3 separate regions of the Homo sapiens genome follow, and all the other regions are linked to region 2. The links are contacts of gene promoters, found by promoter capture Hi-C in blood cells and fetal thymus (Javierre and others, 2016). All regions are on one chromosome and are shown on one strand. Each heading gives the region's core, a stretch centred on a gene start or on the middle of the fragment in contact. The rest is flanking DNA. Distances are from core to core; before and after follow the strand shown.

Region 1 (3,889 bases), core at 328-2,827, 270 kb before region 2:
TTTGAGGTCTGTTTGGAAATTTTTCAAAGATTCGCAGGCGTAAAGGGAGCTTTTCTTTGGTGTCCGCATTTGCTTCACTTTGCTTTAACTAAAGAAAAATTGGAAAGAAGAAAAAAAGGGGGAACCTATAATACTATTATATACGTTACACAAAATTAGTTTTAGAATGGAAGCAATAAGTAATTACATGAAATGCCAGTAGATGGCAGCAAAGGCCTACCAAGTATACCTCTCTTGCCCGCCATAAATTGCTCTATGAGCTAAAACTTTTGAGTTAACAGAAAAAACAAAAACAAAACTTAACAACAAAAAAACTAAACCAGAAAAAAATTCAAGGAAAACTTTATGTCATTTTATTCCCAAAGACAAGTCTCTTTTCATCTCAGACATTTTTAATGGTTTACTATTACTTGCATATTTAAACAATAAAATTTGTTTACACATGCCTAACGCTAGAATTAAAAATTTTTAAAAACCATGAAAAATTTAAAAAAAATTAACTACAGAATCATACTAAGTAGTAGCATTTGTAAAGAGAGACAATGGCAGGAAAATTGGTTATGTCGCCTAGCAGATTAAAACAGAAAAGCTCAAAACACAAATACCACATTTGGTCCATGCAGCGAGTTTTCCATTTGGCTGCAAACATGCTTGGACACGACGAACTTAAATGCCATATGATATCTTTGTGAGGAATGACAATCAAATGGATTTATTTAAGAGTGTATATTTATATTTCTACAAATTGAGTTTCAGGGAAGCTCAGGTTTAACATCATAAACTGGAACAAGGCTGAACTAAGATACTACAAAGGTGGACTGTGGCTTCCAGAATTCATGCTATACTTTCCTATGCTCTCTTTTTCTCTCCCAGTGCCGACGTCTCTTGGAGTCCCTCTTTACTTCTGTTTACCTCTCCCCTTCTCCAGGACCTTCTGCAGAGTGGAACACCCTTCCCCACGTCTGCCCTGTCTTCTGTCCCGGCTTCCCAAACTGCATCTTTTAACACTGATGCCTTTCAAAGAGTACATGTAATTCAGGCTGCCTTTTTGGAGGGATTTGGGGGGTGGGTTTCAAAAATCATCCACTCATTTACCTCCTTGTTGGGTATGGTTTTACTCTATAATTTGTTTTAGGAATTATGGAAAGATAAGAATTAGAGGCCAAGAGAGCTTTTAAAACAGGAAGAGAGATGGCAATGCATCCCTCCTATATGTGGAAATACAAATTGGCTAAGGAGAACAGGAGGGCTTCTTTTTGGGGAAACATTCCCATTTCAATATGATGGATGACTCAACTATCCTATTGGTTGTGAGCTCATGATGAGATTATACATCCTGATTTCTGGTTTTCTTATTAGGCTGCAGAAATCGCTCTTATGTTTTTGTTTTGTGTAACATAAACATTTACCTTAGCCATTTGTAAGTCTGATTTGATTTTGTGGGTAGCCTTTGGTTTTTCTGTCTTAGATGGTAATCTTATTTGGAGAAGGAGTCACTGCTGTTCGTTGCCTTCCTCCCTTCCTAACTGGAGTGCTCAACGCAGTAATGTGTGCAAAATGGCACGTTCTCAACAGTTCCATGGTTATGATGATGACAATGGTAAGGAATTAGCTCCCAAAGACACAAAACAAAAAGTAGTAGCATCTCTGTGAGAGGTACACAGTTAGAAAAATGATTCCACACACGAGTAAAGAGATTTACCAGGAAGAGTCTTGTTTTCTAAAAGTTGATACAACTAGTAGAAAAATACTTGTCAGTGGTAAATAGAGCAGAAGTAGAAAAAGCAGTTAATCTATTAGATCAGATCAGAGTGTAAGGCAGGTATATCAGGCCAAAGGTGATAAGACAGAGCAGAAATAAAGTATTGTTAATTCATGCATTTGCTGACTCATTTATTTATACATTGATACTGTCACTTATAAATCAAATCTTACAGGTCAGGTTCTGTGCTAAGCTCAGGGGATATAAAAAGAAATAAGTCACTGCACTCGCCCTCACGGAGCCCACAGTATAACTGGGTAGATAGTTCTATAAAGAGACAATGATAATAAAATAGAATGGCCACTCTGGCAGATATAGGAACAGAGTGCTCGGAAACACAAGGTATAGAGCAAAGAGAGAAATAAGAAAAAAAATGAAGGCACTACTTCTACTCCACGAGACTTCACGGGCAGCAGAATAGACACACGTGGTCAGAAGAGTTGACTTGGGGGCTCTAGATGTATCAGGACTGGTATGCATATTTTATGAGAATTCAATGTCTTCAAACAGACACAAGGGCAAATGGTATATTAATTGGGACATATCATTGAAATGAGAACACAGAGTTCTTTCCTAAAAGCCTCTAGGCCTGCCCACTGCCTGCATCCCCACCAGTGCCTCCCTGGCCAATGCACCACTGGGTTCCTGCATTTCCTGCAGTGCTTTCTCCATCTGCTTCAGCTCTTTCTAATCTGCTCTTCATTCTGCGGTTATTGCCATTTCTCACGCTCTGTCTTAAAACTTTTCAATGGCATTCCACTGCCTTTTTCTTCCTCTCTCTCTCTTTTTTTTTTTTTTTTTTGAGATGGAGTCTTGCTCTGTCTCCCAGGCTGGAGTGCAGTGGTGCGATCTTGGCTCACCGCAACCTCTGCCTTCTGGTTCAAGCCTCAGTTTCCTGAGTCGCTGGAATTATAAGCATGCACCACCACACCTGGCTACCCACTGCTTTTAACAAACAAACAAAAAAACTTTTGTTTTAACAAACAAAAACAAAAATATAAACTTTTCTTTTTTAAAGATATGGGATCTTGCAATGTTGCCCAGGCTGGCCTCAAACTCCTGGGCTCAAGGGATCCTCTTGCCTCAGCCTCCTGAGTAGCCGGGACTACAGGTGCGAGCTGCCATGCCTGGTCAAAATCTCAATCTTCAATCTAGGCTCAGAGGCCTTTTTTTGGCCCCTCCCTGCCTGTCCAGCCTCAGCTAGCTCTATCCCCACACCGGGTTCCAGTCACATCCTTCAGTTGCTTGGAAACATCTGCACCCTCTGCCTCAGAACCTCTGTGCCTCCCCCACCTCTGCCGGCCCTCTGCTGGCCCTCTGCTGGGTTCCCCTTTCTTCCTCTTTTTCTCTTGAACTCCATCAAATTCTACTTGTTTTCTAGATTTCAGTTCCACTAGAAATTCCTCACAGAAGCTTTCTCTGACAAAGTTTTCCTCTTACAAGCTCATAACATGGTAGGATGAATCCTATAATATTGCTGTTTGTGTGGCTCAAAGCAGTTGAACATCTGCAATTTCTTACGGGTCAATTGAATCCACAATACATTAGTTTCCTAGGACTCCTGTCACACATTACCACTAGATCATTAGCTTAACACAATAGAAATTTACTCTCTCAGCATTCTGGAGGCTAGAAGTCAAAAACCAAGGCGCCAGCAGGGCCATGCTCTCTCTGAAGGCTCCAGGCGAGAGTCCTTCCTTGCCTTTCTCTTGTTTCTCATGATTCTCAGCCATGCTCGGAGTTCCCTGGCTTGTAGCTGTAACACCCCATCCCTGCTTCTGTCACCACATGGCCTTCTGGGCCTGCGTGTTTCTGTGTCTCTGAATCTGAATCCCCCTCTCCTTTTCCTTATAGATGCCAAACACTGGACCATCCAGAACAATTAACTTAACTGGTTACCTCTGCAAAGACCCAATTTCCAAAGATGGTCTCATTCTGAGGATCCAGCTGGACAAAAATTTTGGGGGAATGCCTTAAACCCCCTACTCGTACTGTCGTTTGACACTATATTGTGTGACCCCTTGCACAACAGTTCTCTTTTCCCTGAGACTGTAAACTTGGTGAGGACAGGAACCATGCAGGGCTCTGCTCATTATTCCACGGGCAGTGGCTGGCATGGCACTGGAC
Region 2 (3,884 bases), core at 851-3,350:
ACTTGAAATCCACATGTGACTCTGACCTGGGATAAATTTATACAGCTATGGAAATTCTGAAATTATCTGAACATCATCGATAAATGATAAAACAAATGTGTACATTTGTGTATACACATACATGCACACACAAAGCATGCCGGAATGATAAAATCACCTGGAAACCATTTCAAAGAAATGCCATACCCAAGAAGAAGAAAATGCTACTCAAATCTTCAGTTCACTAAATTGCAACTAAATGACACTATTTTGAGTAGACTTTTTTTAAGTACATTTTTTAAGTACATTTCTCCTTTGAATATCTTGCAAGTCCTATCCAAAGTTATAAGTGTACAACCACTATTTTATAAGACATGCTTTCTCCTAGAGTTCTGTAGAGATTTTAGCATAGTCCTTATCAGTGACGGCACATTTATTCTGCAAACAGATTATGTCTTCTATGAACACAGAAGAGGATCCAACTGAACCTTTTCACTTTTTAAGTTTTTCTCCAAAGCTGGATTTTGTCTTCACACTGTCTGGTTTTAGCAGTGGCTAGGTCAAAGTATACTACAGAAGAACGAAAAATCGACTCTAGAAAAGCACGCAGAATGACAGCCAACCAGTTAGGGAGTAAATGTTTCTCGTTGCAGATGTTTGGGAAGCCATGATTTTTATTTAGAACTGTGGAAACCTTATCTTTGAATTTAAAAAGCCAGTCCTGAGATGCATCTGCCTCAGGGGTAACTACCATAGTGAAACCGCTCCTCTCCCAGGCCATATCAAATCACAGTTGTAGTTATGAACATACAAATCACACACATATATATATATATATACATACATATATATTTCAAAATCGCCACCTGTTAATTTTTGATCCCCTATTAGAGGTGTTATCCACCAACTACTAACACGAAGGTCACTGGTCCTCAACCCACATTTCACCACCAGGGCAGTCGGGCCTAGCTGATGACCACACGAACACCAGATTAAGAGTAAAACCTTCTGAGGCCTGAAAGTGAGCGTGTATTCACACATCCTTAATAATACAGTGTCTGAAAAATTGTACCTGAAACTGAAAGATTTATTCTAAGGTATTTCAAGCACTAAGGGTCTGAGTTCAGCATTCTCACACCATCCTGAAAGAGGAACATTAAGTCAGCAAAATGACTGCGATCTGGGCCCCCAGAGGGATCCCAGCCAGGCCATCCTTGCTGGTGTCTTAAAGATTCAGTGACAAAATGGTGTTGCTTGGCAGGACACTGTTTTGCGTTCGGTGTAGCCACCCTAATGACGGCTGCTTAACAAGGCCAATGAATATCATAAGGGACATTTAGCAAGGAGCAATCCACAGGAGCATGGGGGTGGGGCAAGGCCGCGGAGCCCCCGCGGAGACCTGCTGGAGCCAGGCTGCCCACCCCCACCTCCCCACCCGCGCGTTGGCCCAGAGGTTTACCCAGGCAGCGGCCCTGGTGCCGAGGGGGCAGGTGCAGCGCTGTAGTGATGCCCAGTGGCCTCGTCCTCAGCCACCTGCCCCCCAACACCTGCTAGATGCCCAGGCGGGGCAGGCCCGAGGTGTCGCCGGCCCTGGGCTTCCCAAGCCAGCCCAGGGGCATCCCGCGGCAGGCGCCCCCGACACCCACGCGCAGGAATAGGGAGGGCGCATCGCGGCTCCCGCGCCCCGGCCAGGCCGGCAAGGACCCCACCGCCCCGCTCTCGGGTGGAGGCGCCCCTCCCCACCCCTCCCCCGCGCGGGGCCCCCGCCCGCAGCCCCTCTAGCAGCCCCTCTCGCAGCCCCAGCGCCCCTGAGCCGTCCTGGCCCGGACCGGCCAAGGAACTAACGAGCGCGCATCGCGGGCCTCGGGCGCAGGGCACGGAGCCGGCCGCGCCGCAGCCTCCCGGGCACCGGCGGCGGTGACCAACCTGTAACCCCAGCGCTCAGAGCTGTCATGGTGCCCGCGGGCGGCGGCGGCGGCGACAGTGGGCGACCGGCAGGATCAGTGCCAGGCGCGGCGCCCAGGGCGGGCGGGGACGCGGGCCCCTCACCTACGGCGGCTCAGCTCAGGCAGCGCGCTCGGCCCGGCTGGGGCCGCGGCTCACGCTCGCCGTGTCACTCACTGAGCGCCGCCGCCGCCGGGCAGGCTGGGGGAGGGGTGGGAGCCGGAGTTTTCGGGCCTTTAAAAAATTATTATTTTATTTAAATTTTTAAAGTTAGCTTTGCTACAGGGACTGCAGTGATGCCGAAGGGCGGGCACCGCAGAGGAGGCTGCGCCGCAGTTGGTGGGGAGCGCCAGGGTCGGTACTGGCAGTTCCTTCTTGCCGGCTGCCACCCGCAGTCAGTCTCACAGCAACAGCTAGGCTCTCATCTGCGAGCTCCTCTCGGGGGTCTTTCGTACTCAACAGCACGGCGGCGGTGTGCACGGGAGTCCGCCGGGCACACGCGGGGTACACTTAAGTGCACTGCCAGGAGGCCGGGAGCCCAGCGTGCGAGCGTGAGGTCAGACTGTGCACGGTACCGAGGACTAGTTCCATTCCTGAGTATGAAAGGGTGAAACCGTTCACCTCAAGTTTCACCCCGGAGTTATTAAATAATGAATGCATCAGTCACACTTATAGTTTTCTAAATAGGTTGACGTTCGCCTTTAAAATTAAAATATGTTGTCGTGTGGATGAGACAAAGTCTATTCAGAAATTGACAGTCCCCCACCCCATACCCTGTGAGTATACCTGGACAGCAGACTGCATCTGAGGCTTCCTAGGGCTCCCAGCAGAGCAGGTTTAGGGAAATCTGGCCTCCTAAGCACCATGCCCAGGGCGACATCCTCCCACTCATTCCCACTCTCTGAAAGGTTTACTTTGGGTCTGGAATCTTGCCATGTAGTCAGATACGAAAATCCCCAGGGAACTCCTGACCAGTGATTTAGACATCATGCACACAGGCATATAAATAAAGGGAAAGAAACAACTGAATGAAGCTTTCTCTACAAGAGAAATTCTAAACAAAGAGCATTTGTCTATCACAAAATGTTATGTGGCAAGGTATAGAAGTAAAACTACACAAACCTACATTTTAAAAATGTATTTTCTGGTTACAGATATTTAATTAATCTACTTTCTTAAAAAGTCCATTCACAATTTGTTCACATTCATAATCCATATTAGTACGTTTTATTGTTTACAGGGAAATGTTAAAATATTGGTATTTCATGAAATACAGAGTCATGCGAGATAATTTTTCAAATTTCTAAAGACTTCAGAAAAACTGTGTCAAAAGCCAGGTTTTAAACAAATGATGAAATCACTCCTCATAAGAAAAAATTGACAGTAATTTAAACAATGCTAAATCTACAACCAGTTTGCTTAGAAAAAGTATTTACCAACTTGTTTCATCATCTTTATTTGCGGCTTTCAATTGCTTGTTCTAAATACTAGTTTATTTCACAAACTGAAATATATAGCTATATATATATGGTAGCTGAATGATAGTGTGTTATTCCTTGACATTCGTTCGAATTATCTGTTAGTAAATTATATTAAGGAAATATTTAAACATTTATTTATAATGTTTTGAAGTGGTCAAGGCAGTGATTTTTTACTAATCTCAGTGCCACTCCTCACCCAACAGGCATTTCAGACCTTTCTCTGTCCTTGGTTGAACTACCTCTGTTAAGTCTCTATAATTCATGCTCATGAGCCAAACAATCCCAATGATGATGGAGACAGTCTCAGAGAATTCATGGGCTTCAAGGAAGTCATGGAATCCAGCACACTCATCCTATAATGCATAGGGATTCACTGTGTATTGGAGTAGACAATCATTTTAAAAAACAGGTACATCCAAAATATCATAGTACCCCTTCTACCTGCTCAGTATCTCTCTTCTTTTGTTTTCTTTGTTATTT
Region 3 (3,968 bases), core at 226-2,725, 490 kb after region 2:
CTAATATATTGTGTTAGAAGTCAAGAGAGTGGCTGCTTTTAGTTTTCATTGATTGGAAAAGCACATGAGGAGCGTTTCTTGGGGGCCGGGTAGTGCTCTATTCTTGATCCGCATGGTCTTCACACAAGTGTATTTATTCACTCTGTAAAAATTAATTAAGTTGTGTATGATTTGTGGACTTCTTTTAATGTGCATGTTATATCTCAATAATATTTATTTTGAAAGTGAAAGAGCATTTTGAATGTAAAAACTGCTATATTTATGAAATAGAATTAAATGACCTCCATATCATCTTCAATATATAGGTTATTTAATAAATCTGCCCAAGTGCTCTACTCTAGGAATTTTGTGTATCTTCAACTTTAGTCTTGCTTGAGAAATACTGAAAGGATTTTCTCATCAAAATAAAAGAAATGCCTTTTAGAGGAGAAATAAAAGCTAGGAATGGACAGAAAGAGGATTATAATTTTTCCCACAGGTTGGGAAGAACATTTATTCTGTTAGGTTGTCTCCTGGATTTTATGGTGTTTCAAATTTTATGAAACAAGAAAATATAAAGAAAGTCTTTCTGAAAAAAAAAATATGGTGGAATTCCTATTATTGAAATAGCAACATTTGCGAGAAAGGGATGGGAGAAGATGAACTAAAGCCATAATTCTTGATGTCTCCCTCCCACTTCCCAAGTAGTGACTTCCAAATCTGATTTCTTGCAACTAGCCCTCTGTCCATTTTTCTTATTTGTTATCAAAGAGACCCCAAGTGAAGAGGGAGTCATATCAAAATGGGGAATTCAGATGGGATGCGGTGGCTCATGCCTGCAATCCCAGTACTTTGGGAGGCCGGGGCGGGTGGGTCACCTGAGGTCAGGAGTTCAAGACCAGCCTGGACAACATGGTGAAACTCTGTCTGTACTAAAAATACAAAAATCAGCTAGAGGTTATGGTGTGCACCTGTAACCCCAGCTGCACAGGAGGCTGAGGTGGGAGAATTACTTGAACCCCAGAAGTGGAGGTTGCAGTGAGCCGAGATCGCACCACTGCACTCCAGCCTGGGGGACAGAGCAAGACTCTGTCTCAAAAAACAAACAAATAAACAACCCAAAAAACCCAACTAATCAAACAAACAGATACGCGAGGAGTTTGTGCAGAAGAAATAGAAAAGTACTACTACTACCATAGATTATATGACCCAGGAAAAATTACTTAACATCTGTCAGTTTCCATTCTTTCGTTTGAAAAATAAAGAGAATATTATCTACTTTAAAGGGTTTTTTAAGCTTTACTGAGACATAATTAACATACAAAAATGCAATTCATTTTGATGAGTTTGGACATATTCATATACTTGTGATACCATCACCACATCAAAGTTTTTGTGAAGTTCAATGCAGATAATGATGAAGTTTGATGAGCTAAGATATTGGTTGCTTTATTTTTACTTGAAACCATAGGAATATCTCAGTTTTATCAATTTAGCAACATTCTTAGATTATTCAAAACAAAAAGTGCTTAAAGAGGACCATATACTTAGAGCCACTCTGAGATGAGAATATATACAAGAGTAGGCAAGGTCCCCCATCCCAAGAATTCTGGCACCTACATTTTAGAGGTTTATCGCTCCCTTTTTTTTATTATATTATTATTTTCTGTCCTTATGCTCTTTCTCTTTCTTTTTTTAAGCTTCTTGGCTTTTCTTGTGTCTATCTAAGGTTCTTTACAGTGTCCAGAGGTATTTAAATGAAAGAGGCTCATACGTTTCTTAACAACAAACCCAAGAGACAAATACCCAATATTTGTGTGTGTTATATAGTTTCTTAATTGGAACTTTAAATACCATGCCAATATATGCAGTTTACAGCCCACCCCATTTTTCCTCATGAAACAAGATGCTTGCAGCCAATAGTGATGCAGCCAATATTGATACCAAGCCACTATTAACTCATATGTTTAATCAAACCATCTGTGTGTAATACAATCTAAATGAAATCACCTTAAATGCAAGCGCCAGTAAGTGCAGAATAACTAACTTCCTGAAGCCATAAAGCAATTCTCTTGACTTATAATTATTTTCTTCACTTGCAAAATTACTATTTACTGAGAGTTTTATCAAGGGATGTCTTTCCTGCTCAAAATCCTGTCATGGTTTTGAGAATCTGAAATTTCACTGGCTGACTGCTAATCAGAAACACATTAGTCTAGCCTTCTTTCAAAGGAGGCACTTTTAATAAAAATCTAATAGCTTTAGTTCTATGTTTGAATAATGCAACTTATTAAAATTGAGAACCTCACTTATTTAGTGCTTCTCTCTCTCTTCCAAAGAAAGCCAGCTGATACTGTTATCTCAAACTGGTTAGTATCCAGTGGTCTCAGTTTTCTAGTTCATCCAATGTTGCCATCTAGATCAGCTTGCCAGTTTTCTGGGGTTTTTTGTTTGTTTGTATATTGCTCTTTTCCAATGAATTCTAGTGGCTATTTAGAAGCATGCATGCTGTTGCTGAGGAATATGTTCAATATTATCTACCAGAACTTCAGACTGAAGATCTGAAATTCCTGTGAGGCAATTTGACATTCATTTAAGTTACAGATCAGAGTTGTGGAGACTCTAATTGTGGTGTGTGTGTGTGTGTGTGTGTGGTCATTCATGTTAGTTAGACCTCTTTTCCTAGGCTTGTCATTATTTCCATATTTCCTCATTGAAGCTTTATTCTCTTTAAATGGGTTTTAACTTTGCACCTAGTGTGACTGCTGTTATGTACACAAGCTGTAATTTTTAAAAATAATTCTGTACAGATTCGAACCCTAGAAGAAAATAATGAGACTTGTTAAGATAAAACAAATAAAAGTGTCTGGAAGAATCGAGTTCTATAAATACTGGGAGGCATTAAACAGACTTTTAGTGGAGACTTGGGTAGGCTTTTTTTTTCCTGTCTCTATATTCAAATCTGTGAATACAGGAGAATTGTAGCTTTTATATGCCTAAATATAGAGCAGGGTGACTATAGGGAAGGAGGGAGGGCTGTGTGCCACAAATATACAGAATCTATAGAATATACAAAGATGATTAACCAACTATTTTCAGGCTGCATTTAATGAGCAGCTAACAGGAAGCATGGAGTCTAAGCCAACCCTAAAGAAAGGGGGTAAGGCAGAGACAGGGAGACAGGCACTGAACATAGACTGTCAGCATCTAGAGGACAGTCCTGTTCTCCAGAGGGCCTTTTGTGTTTGTTTGCTTGTTTGTATGAGTGTACGGAGTACAGGTGCAATTTTGTTACAGGCATAGATTGCATAGTGTTGAAGTCATGGATACCTTAAGTATCCATCCTACAAATTAAAACCACAATGTAGGTGGCCTTCTAATGTAACATATAATTGCTCTGGCAAAGGAATACACTACTGTCTCAATGTTCTAAGATCTAATTCATGAGGGACTCTACACAGCGTGCAAAAGAAGAACTGAAAGCTGAGAGGCATCTATCAAATTGTCTTGTTCAATGGGTTCATTGCATAGAGGTCTCTGCGTGTTAACAGACCTGCCCAAGTTTTCCAGCCAGTTTGTGGGAGCACAAGGCCCAGTGTGTCTACCTCCAGGGCTTTACCAGCACCGACCACACCATGAAGAGTGGCAGTTTTTTGTGGACCTTTGGGCTCTAGTAAGGATAGTGGTAAATAATACTGATGGAAATGTGTGAGACAAAATGCAGGTGAAATTTGGGGTATTTTCTTATATTCAGGTTTTAAGAAAAAAAAAATCAACAGGCCTATCTCTGGAGATGCCAATGAGAATGTTGCAGAAAATTTAAAAAAGAGAAGGAATAGCAGTGTGAGGCTAGTCAATTATGATGACACCAGTTATTGCTAAAAAATGGATATTGCAAAGTGCTGTTTCCTTTTTTAAAAAGTGAACAAATAGAAAGACTTAGCTTGTAAACGAATGTTCCTGGGGAGATTCTGCTGGAGAATTCATTA

The links. The method cuts DNA at HindIII sites, captures the fragments that hold promoters and counts their contacts. A CHiCAGO score of 5 or more calls a contact.
Region 1: a fragment that was not itself captured here is called in contact with the fragment with the promoter of NALCN in region 2 in 1 of 17 cell types (endothelial precursors); the score reaches 7.3 in endothelial precursors.
Region 3: a contact is called between a fragment that was not itself captured here and the fragment with the promoter of NALCN in region 2, in 1 of 17 cell types (erythroblasts). The highest score is 5.6, in erythroblasts.

Annotation. Positions count from the first base shown.
Region 1 is chr13:101,144,809-101,148,697 of GRCh38, forward strand. It overlaps NALCN (sodium leak channel, non-selective), which reads right to left. Exons shown (of 44, transcript NM_052867.4): 16 at 1-88. Among named protein-coding and RNA genes, the nearest start is that of LINC00411, 200 kb to the left of the region's middle. The HindIII fragment of the contact is 3,192 bases long and covers 1-3,173 here.
Region 2 is chr13:101,414,408-101,418,291 of GRCh38, forward strand. NALCN (sodium leak channel, non-selective) reads right to left here and starts at 2,101. Exons shown (of 44, transcript NM_052867.4): 1 at 1,906-2,101. RefSeq lists enhancers at 902-1,452, 1,453-2,003. The HindIII fragment of the contact is 9,792 bases long and covers 1-2,955 here.
Region 3 is chr13:101,900,629-101,904,596 of GRCh38, forward strand. All of the region lies in intron 1 of FGF14 (fibroblast growth factor 14), which reads right to left. Among named protein-coding and RNA genes, the nearest start is that of FGF14, 14 kb to the right of the region's middle. The HindIII fragment of the contact is 403 bases long and covers 1,275-1,677 here.